Linked DNA regions of Homo sapiens: region 2 is linked to region 1. The links are contacts of gene promoters, found by promoter capture Hi-C in human tissues and cell types (Jung and others, 2019). All regions are on one chromosome and are shown on one strand. The core of a region is centred on a gene start or on the middle of the fragment in contact, and the rest is flanking DNA. Distances in the headings are between cores, read along the strand shown.

What was found. Contacts are between HindIII fragments. The study calls those that stand out against the background at their distance.
Region 2: a contact is called between a fragment that was not itself captured here and the fragment with the promoter of CLNK in region 1, in 1 of the 25 tissues and cell types used here (lymphoblastoid cells).

Annotation. Positions count from the first base shown.
Region 1 is chr4:10,682,315-10,687,147 of GRCh38, reverse strand. It overlaps CLNK (cytokine dependent hematopoietic cell linker), which reads left to right and starts at 2,380. Exons shown (of 19, transcript NM_052964.4): 1 at 2,380-2,480. The HindIII fragment of the contact is 5,072 bases long and covers 1,229-4,833 here.
Region 2 is chr4:11,446,497-11,451,329 of GRCh38, reverse strand. No RefSeq gene overlaps it. Among named protein-coding and RNA genes, the nearest start is that of HS3ST1, 20 kb to the right of the region's middle. The HindIII fragment of the contact is 6,395 bases long and covers 1-4,833 here.

The DNA of each region.
Region 1 (4,833 bases), core at 1,131-3,630:
ATATCTATTTGTTAAATCAATACATGTCTGATCAGGCACTATTCATTGCATTTACCACAAATTGTAGTTTTATATATATCTGAAGTCCATTCATTTATTTTCACCTCTTCTAGGCTGTAAGCTCCATCAAAGGAGTAGGTATATCTCTTATCTAATTGTATTTTTCAGCACCTAATAGAGCTGCTGATGCATGGTATATATTCAATAGATAATAAATTAATGAATGATATTCCAAGAAAAAAAGCTTTAAATATCACCTACACTATTATCAGCTTTCTCATTAAACCAAATTGTCTTCAATTCTTCATGAGTAAAAAGCAGAAATATTCATATCATTAGACTTGGGTTCTTATTGCAGTCTAGCCACCAATTGGATGTGAACATGCATTTTTAGATTATTTGCCAATGAAGACCACAATAATTCACTTTTCTTCATTCACCCCTTGAATAGTCTTCTCCCACATTTACTCTGAACTTGGCCATGTGACTTGCTTTGGCCAATGGGACCATGGCATCTAGGATGCAAGCAGAGGCCTGGAAAAGGCTGGAGGCTGGAGTTTCCCCTCTCCCACTGCCCTTAGTGCCCCAAACCCACCGTGTACATGGGCCTAGCTGGCCACTAGATAACAGGAAGCTATGCAGAGGAGAACAGAGGCACCTGGCTGACATGATTGCCAACAAACAGATTCATGAGTGTGATAATCTTAGATCATCCAACTGCCTCTCAACCCACTAGCACAGACCAGATGATCAGGTCTTGTTATGGGTCGAATACGTCCCAGCTAAAATTCATTTGTTAAAGTCCTAACCCCCCACTACCTTGGAATGCCTTCTGACATGGAGACTGGGTCTTTAAAGAGGTAATCAAGTTAAAATTGGGTAATTAGGGTGAGCCATCATTCACTGTGACTCCTCTCCTGATAAGAAGGGGAAATTTGGACAAAGACACAGGGAGAATGCCATGTAAACACAAAAACAAGGATACAAAGACACCCACAAGCCGGGGATAAAGGCCTGGAACAGATCTTCTCCTCATGGCTCTCAGGAGGATCCAACCTTGCCGACTCCTTGATCTCAGACTTCCAGAGGCCAGACTGTGAGACAATACAATTTGACCTTCTGTTTTGTTAGCCACTCAGGGCTCAGTCCTTTGTTATGAAAACCCCAGAAAATTAATATGGGTCCAGACCAAAAGAAGTGAGCAAGTGACACACACAATTATGAACTAAATAAAGTGGTTACTGCTTTAAGCCCCTAATGCAGCAAAAGCTAATTAATAAAGTGGTTAAACTACTCGAGTCTCCCTAGTCTTCAGTTTTCACAATTACAAAATGGGATTTTACATATGTTCCTTACATGGTTATTAGTAAGATTAAGGAGGATAATGCTTGCAAGTTGCTTAGCAATGTAACTGACTCACAATTAGCATTCAAAGAGTGCTTATTTTCATGTTTTCCTTGGGGTGTCTGTTAAGTCAAAACCAGAGTTATTTACCCAAGAAAATATAAACTTCTACCTTTGAATTTATTGTAAATAATGTTGGAGTTTGTTATGGAATTCAACATCAATTTATATAAAACTAGAATGTCAAGTCTCCAGAAGAGGAAACAGGCACTCGGCAAGATCAGCTTAAATGGACCAAGATTAAGGCCGAAAGAAAATGTATTAAGCAACTGATATGTGCCCAAACATTACTGCATGCCTTTATTTACAATATTTTGTTTATTTATTGAAATACTTCTAAAATATAAATATTATCCTTCCATCACAATTGAGGAAATATCATTTCCTCAATGAAGGAAATATAATCCTCAATTATCCCTCATTTTTTAAAAAAGTTTCTAAAATACAAATATTATTATCACTCAAACTACTTGAGAAATAAACTTCAAAGTGCCCAAGATCCTATAGCTAATAATTAATACAGCAAGAATAAGAGGCAGGCATTTCTCCTTTAGTTCCCAGGTTCTTTCCTTAACACCTGGTCCATGTGTCTGGGATGGTCTCAGGAAGCCATTGCAAAATTAAGCCAAAAGATGATAGTTAATGTCCACTATTCATATAAAGTGAGACTCGCAAAACCCACCTTCCATGCTTGAGTGTTGCCCAGCAGTTCCTTTTATTGTGTTCTGGTAACTATGAAGTGCCACATAAGGACACCGTGTGTCTTTAAAAACACCCTTTGCATTGGAAGATTTCAGCCTCTGAAAGCTTCACGTATTGCACTCCAGCCTAAGAAGAGGAAGTCCTGCCAGCCCTCAGGTCAGACCTCTCAGGTCTGTGGCTGCATTTCACAGGAAACCAAGTCTAAAACGGACCTATCAGGAGGTTTTCTGCTGAAGGGCACTGCTTAGCATCGAGAAGAATTCAACCCACCGCCTTACTAATTTCCAGTGCCCCAAGGTCTCTGCACTGCCGCCCCTCCTCACAGGAGACGGACACCTCAGCCTAGATCCCTTGGTGCTCTCCACGCTGTTCAGGTAAACTCATTAGGCCAGTTCTTCTGAGTGAGGATCTCATGGTCATCTCCTTGTCATAAATGATCATCAGGAAAGACCTGAGCAGCAAGTAAAAATGTGTTTCTAAAGTGGAAGTCTGGGCCTTATATATAGCATCAAAGGAGCAAGAAGAAAGCCCTTAACTCAATTGTTAAAGATCCTTTCATTCTTTTGGGAGAAAGAATCAGGATACCTACCCACAGAAAATTAAAAGACTAAATGTTTTCAATCTTCTTTTCCTGGAGCTTGGACTCCCCGACTGTTTGCAACTGAAATCTAAAGACCAGGCCCCATGGCTGGCTTTCCTGGCTGACCTTCATTAAGTAAGCCCTCTAGAAAGAAAGCCTCCATTCAAAGTAGGTCATTCAAAGTATAAGTTAACTCCTGGAGCCCTGTGGAAATATATTTTTAACATTTTCTAAAGTAATACGATTTTCTTTCTGCTTTGGTGTAGAGGAGACTTAGACTTTGGAATCACGCAGACATCCTTCCACTCACAAGAGTAAGGAGCTCAAAAGTGAGGTTAAAGTTGGGGTTAAATTCTTACTCTTGAAAAGTGCCGGGAGTCATCTCTACCAGGCTTTTATTGGATAAAGCAAACAAACTGGAATGAGACAGAAAAGAAAATAACTATCATCAAAATATGGATACTTTGATTTTAAAAGGTGTCGATATGCCTGAACTTTTTATCAATACTGTTTTTATTACTTTACACCAGTGTTACTCATTTGGCTTCTCTGTTATGAGTATTACTTGTCTATTACCTACATGGCTATTTCTCTGGCTGTCTCTGTCTATACTGTGGCGCAGCTCCTCAATAGTGTTGTTCTTTGGATTTCCAGGGGCCTCCCAAACCACCAGGAATAATCATTTCAAATATCAAGAAGACGATGGTAGAGCTGGTTAATTGAAGGCCTACCAGAGAAATGACAGCGCTTCAGAAATCCTCTAAGAAGCTTAAGATACAGTATGCCCTAGAGAAGTAGGAATGGCAACTGGCATTTACTTACCTTCAGCTCCTGCTGACCTAGAGAGCTGGCTATTACTTTCCCTGGTTTACAGGTGAAGAACTTGAGTTCTCTAAGTAATATGTGCAAGGTTGTTCAGTCACTAATGTCAGTAACAGAATTCAGAAGGAAACTGATTTTCCTGGCTGACTGATTGGAATGGTGAACAGTGTTAGTTTGCAGTTTCACAGAGCTCATCCCTAAACTCACTCCTGGGTGGTCTCTGACACCAACCATCTAAATGGTAGTATTTCTTTGTTATTCCCAACAAGCCCTCTCAGATGACTGTATAGGCAAGACCATTTGAAAGCCAGTGCTTATAATCTTCTGTACCATCTGGCCAGCTCTGGCCTGAACACCAGGGGATTCTGTTTCTCGATCACTTTGCCATGAGTCAGGTGCTGTCTTAGAAAGACTGTAGGATTTGACGCCTGATCAAAATGGTGAGGATCCTGACTCTGCCACTTGGACCAGGGATGTTGTTTCATATATGATCCTCATTTCCTCCCCCTTTTTAATAAAGTAAGATCTCATAAGACTTGTATTGACAATTATTTAGCCTCAATAATATAATATTTATATTACGTGAAATATGGTGCATTCTTAACACTTAGCAAGTATTCAGTAAGTGTTGACTTCTTTCTCCATTACTTTCCTTTCCTCACTCCAAATCAGTTCTGATTTTATTCTTAAAACATGACCACAATCAACATAGAATTGATTAATACACATAAGTTTACAAATATTGTATTTTAATAATCTCATTAGAGAATGGTAATATTCCACAGTTGTATAGCCCTATGTAATGTAGGCCTTTGAATACATATTTTCTTCTTGAATGATCTTAACAGCTTAATGAAGTAGGCAGAGCACGTATTAGAGCATTTAAAAGGTGAAACTGGGGCTTAGAAAAGATGAGGAAGGACAACATGGTGAAATGGAAAGAAACAGGGCTTTGAGATTGTCAAAAATGGACATGAATCTAGTGTGTGACTTTACTGTTCGTCTTTAGGTAAGTAGCTTAACCTCTCTGATCTTTAGTTAGCTGTTGTTGGAGTTGTGTAATTTGAAACTGGGAGGAAGAATACATTTTGTGTGTTGCTTCGAGAGTGAGAGCAAATGTGCACACAGTGTCTGACACAGAAGAGATAGCCAGGAACTGGCTAAATTTTCACATGAAGAGTAGCAGACAGAGATCTAGAAGCATCCTTTTCTGAATCCTAGTACATGGAGCAGTTATATCCACTGTCATAAGCTACTGCCAACATCTGCCAAGACTTGAGTTCTGCAGAGTTCTTCTAGGCTGTACCTACCCTCCTAGCATGACA
Region 2 (4,833 bases), core at 1,391-3,890, 760 kb before region 1:
AATCTGAAGATTCCAGAGAAGAGAATCATCTATGATTTTGGCAATGCAAACACTGGTCTTTAAGAAGGTAATTTGTATTTTAAGGAGTAAGCAATACGATCCATTGAGATTCAGGAAGAAAATATTAGAGCTTCTACTTTCACACATTTTTAAATTGAAAAAATAAGAAAATTATATTACACCAATGTTTACTATATCACTTGACACATGGACCTTCATTCAGTCTCTATGTCATAGACTTACCTTGAAGAGTTTCATTTTGGATGTAAGTTTGAAATATTTTGGGGACATCCAAACAAGGATGTCAAGGAAGCAGCTAGATAAGTGATCACAAGGGAGAGAAGGGCAGATTCATAAACCAAGAAGGTGTCTGAATATAGAAGGAGTGGATGGGATGCCTTTGGTGACAAAAGCAAGTGTAACTAGGAGGGGAGTGTAACATTTAGAGTTTGGGTACAAAAGGAAGAAATGAACAAGGAGAACTGAGAAGGAGGCAAGGGTCAAGGGTGGCAAGAGAAGCAGGCGGGTTTCCAGGAAAAAATGATAGCGTGTCAAGAAAGACGGATTAACCACATTAAATACTGCTGGAGGGTTGAGGAAAATGAGGGCACAGTATGCCTACTGGATTTGATTACACGAGCACTATGGTGAACTCAGCAAGAGAGCAGCTATCTCAGAAGATTCCGTGAAAACTGGAAGCCGTGGGTCCATTGTTTAAGCAAGGACATTTTCTCCTTTGGTTGTTAACAAAAGTTGATTTTATTCTGGTGTAAAGAAATGCATGCATCTTGTTTTAGTGTGCTCAATGTGTGCTCAATGCATTTTTGAAGATCAAAGACATGCAAAAGGCGACAAACAAAAATATTTTTAAGTCAATCACCAAGACTCCTATTATCTAAAAGCAATCCCTGTAACAGTGCTGTGTCTAACTTCTGTGTTTTCTCACTTGATAAGTTTTTATTCTTTTAGCTTATTCTATGTAATTGTGATTATATTTTATGCAGCATTTTATGCACTGGCTTTTTCACTTCACTTTTTAATAAACATTTTCCAAGTTTTAAATGCTTTGTAAGCATAATATACCATAAAGTGAGCATACCATGGAGATACTCATCCCATTTAGGTTGTTTCCAATTTGAAGGCTGTTATAAATAAAGCTGAAATGAGCATTTTTCTGTATAAACTTTTTCCCCAATTTTTCTAGATTATTTTCTTACAGAGGAATATCTGCAGGGAAATCTCTGAGTTAAATGTTAGAAGGACCCTCAAACTCTAAGGACCTATTTTAAATGAACATCTCTGTGTGCTGTGGATTGGAAAGAAGAACCCCAAATCAACGCTAAAGCAAGATGATAAACTCTTAGTGGTTTTAATTCGTTAACTCCCATGGACACACCTCATCCCAATTTCCTTTCTCACAACTTAGAGTCTTACTTTTCCACTTCCTCCTCCAAGTTCATCTGGAACTTTCCTAATACTGAACAGAAGAACATAACTGCCAGTAAAATGACAGGGAGAAAGGAGAAAAAGAGGCAAAGAGAGAGAAGAGAAAAAGAGGAAATGGGAGGAGGGGGAGCAAAAAGAGGGAAAGAGAGGAAGACAAGGCCACTTGGTGCATTCATTGATATGGTTTGGCTGTGTCCCTACCCAAATCTCACCTTGAATTGTAATAATCCCCACGCAGGGCATGGCTAAGTGGAGATAATTGAATCATGGAGTGGTTTCTCCCATAGTGTTTTCGTGGTAGTGAACAAGTCTCAGGATATCTGATGGTTTTATAAGGGGCTTTGTCCCATTTTGTTCAGCACTTCTCTTACCTGCTGCCACGTAAGACATGACTCTGCTTCTCCTTTGCCTTCTGACGTGATTGTGAGGCTTCCCCAGCCATGTAGAACTGTGAGTCCACTGAGCCTCTTTCCTTTATAAATTACCCAGTCTCAGATATGTCTTTCTTAGCAGCATGAGAACAGACTAATACATTAATTTTTAAAAAGCCTTTGAGTTTTGTGTAATTTATATTTTTCTCCAAACACTTCCATTTTTTTAAGGCTGGAGCATTGTCATAGAAGACACATCAATTTTAAGTTCTTTGACAACCAAGCTTCTTTTTCTATTATCTCACCACTTTCTCCCTTTTGAGAAACTCTTCTTAGTGAAGTCTTGGTGAAACGCTCCAGTCTATCACTTAAAAAGAAAAACCAAGCGCAGCTCTTCCCGCCCTGTCCTTGGTCAACAGGAAGCTGGCACATGAATTGGGCTTATCCAGTTGTCAATTAATTCTGGGGTTTGTATCCTGAAAGAGTGGCCAAATAATGCGGAGGCCTCAGCAGCCAGCTCATGCTTCTGTTGTGACCCCTGCTGCAATCTTCGATGATCAGCTCCCCTGTTGATTACCCGTTCCTAAGTCTGGTCCTCCTGCTTCTAGTTTCTTCTATAGATCCCCGAGAACCCTTCCAATAATCTCCCTTTTCACTGAGTCCATCTTTGTTGCTTGTAAAGAAGGCTCTGTCTGAATCAAGTAGGCAGAACAGGGCCTCATTTAGAGGTTTGGACTTTAGAGCAGTGGGAAACCACTGCGTGCGTAAAAACTCTTTCTGCACTCATTGCCCAGGGGGAAAACAGAGACATGGAGTATGAGGGGAGTTAAGGGGGAAAAAAAAGGAAAGAAAAAAGAAAGAGAGAGAGAGAGGGTCACACACGTGGAATTGCCCGGAAGGGTGGGGAGCAGACAGAAGGCTTCCGAGAGTGGCCGACACATCGAGATCAAGAACATTCAAGGACATTCTCGCTTTAGCATCACACTCAGACTCGGGGGACCAGGAAGTGAAGACAAGGACTGAGACACTGTAAAAACTGCATGTCTGAAAGCAACGGCAAGGGCAAATGAGGATGCCAGGAGAGACATTTTACGCAGCTCCTGAGCGATTTTGCAGGGCTTCATGTAGCTCACTTCAGGGGAACAGAAAGAATGAAGTTTGGTAATAATTTGCCCTTCTGACAGCCTCTGACCCCACAATACTCATCTCCAATATATTCGACACAAAAAGGCCACCCCAGCATAGAGCTATCTCTCCTTCTCACCTTCTGGAAGAGAGTTTCCTAAACTTTACTGATAAGAGTCACTTGCAACTCCGGTTAAAAATTTAGCTTCCCGGCTGGGCACGGTGGCTCATGCCTGTAATCCAGCACTTTGGGAGGCCGAGGAGGGTAGATCATGAGGTCAGGAGTTCAAGACCAGCCTGGCCAAGATGGTGAAAACCCATCTCTACTAAAAATACAAAAATTAGCCAGGCGTGGTGGTGGGCGCCTGTAATCCCAGCTACTCAGGAGGCTGAGGCAGGAGAATTGCATGAACCCAGGAGGCGGAGCTTGCAGTGAGCCGAGATCGCACTACTGCACTCCAGCCTGGGCGACAGAGCGAGACTCCGTCTCAAAAAAAAAAAAAAAAAAAAAAAAAAACAGCTTCCTAGGTTTTGCCCCTGGACATTCCTATACAGAGGGTCAGGGTGGGATCTGAGAAATTTTTTTTAACCAGTTCTACCACATAATTCTTGTCATCATAAAAGTGTGGAAAACACTACCGTATAATTAGTTACTTGGTGCAGGTATGTAATAGACACCTAGCAGTGTCTATCGGGTGTCTATTGGAGCAGGGGCTAGAGGAGAGGATTGTTATAGAGTAAAAATGATGCTTTCCCTGCTGTGGGAAGGATTACAGTCTTAAGGGATGGACAGAACTATTCATAACTAATTTGAATACAAGCCAAACTATAAGCATAGGAGTGATTGTCCAGTTAAGGGACTATAGAAGACAGAAGACAGCATTGAAGGGGTAGATGGCAAATTGTGGAGACTTGGTGAGAAAGGAGGCCTTTGACCTAGGGCCTAAATGGATTTTGCGCAAAAATAAAAATCAATCCCTTTGAGGCTGGCACTGGAAAGAAAATACCCTGGAGGAAGGAGCACCAGATTCTGGAGCTCTGAACTTGTTTCCAGATCCTCTCTTGCTTCGCCTCCTTCTCTGTTTCCATTGTCACCATCCTGCTGGCCTCAGAGGGTAGTAATCTTCAAACACTCTGGCCCAGACAGAAAAAAGAAAGCCCTTTCAATGAACTCCCCATTGTCCAGCTGAGGCTGAGGCAAGGCTGAAATTAAAAATAATGAAAATCAATAGGCCCTTTACTAAATGCTGAAGAGCAGAAACAAGGAAATAAACAGTCCTATAAAATCAAAACATCTAAGAGGCCCACTCCATCCACATGGAACCCCTAAGGAAAGGGAATTATTCCTGACTCCTTCTCTTCCTATGTCCTGATCGCACTTGACTTGACAGGTACTATTTTCATCTTTGTCTATCATTTGGACTCCTAAAAGTCTAGACAAGGAGAAGGAGAATCATTCTCCTTGAATGGAGTGTTTCCCCTCCCAGGTCCAGCCTCCTGAGTTAGAACTCACCTCTCCTCCAAGCAACTGAGAGCGACTGACTTTCTTTCTGAGCTTCGGTTTCTTTACGGCTTTTCAAAGAACACCATGGCTACTTTGTCTGAAATCAAGTCTGGATGCTGTCATTAATTAACTGCATAAATTCTGTCTAGGCATTTAACCTTTCTGAGTTTCTATTTTTCTGTAGGTAAAATTAAAGGTTTGTATTAGAGCTCAGCTCAGTCCCATTTCTGATCTGTCTGTACTTCTAGGGACATCCATGGGCATGACTCAAATTGTTCATAGTATATGTTTTGCCTCAGCAGTAACACCTTAAATGAAATAGCCTGAACCTAAAAGCTCAAGTCTAAGAGGGCTCACATACCTAAATTCAAACATCCCTCTGCTTTT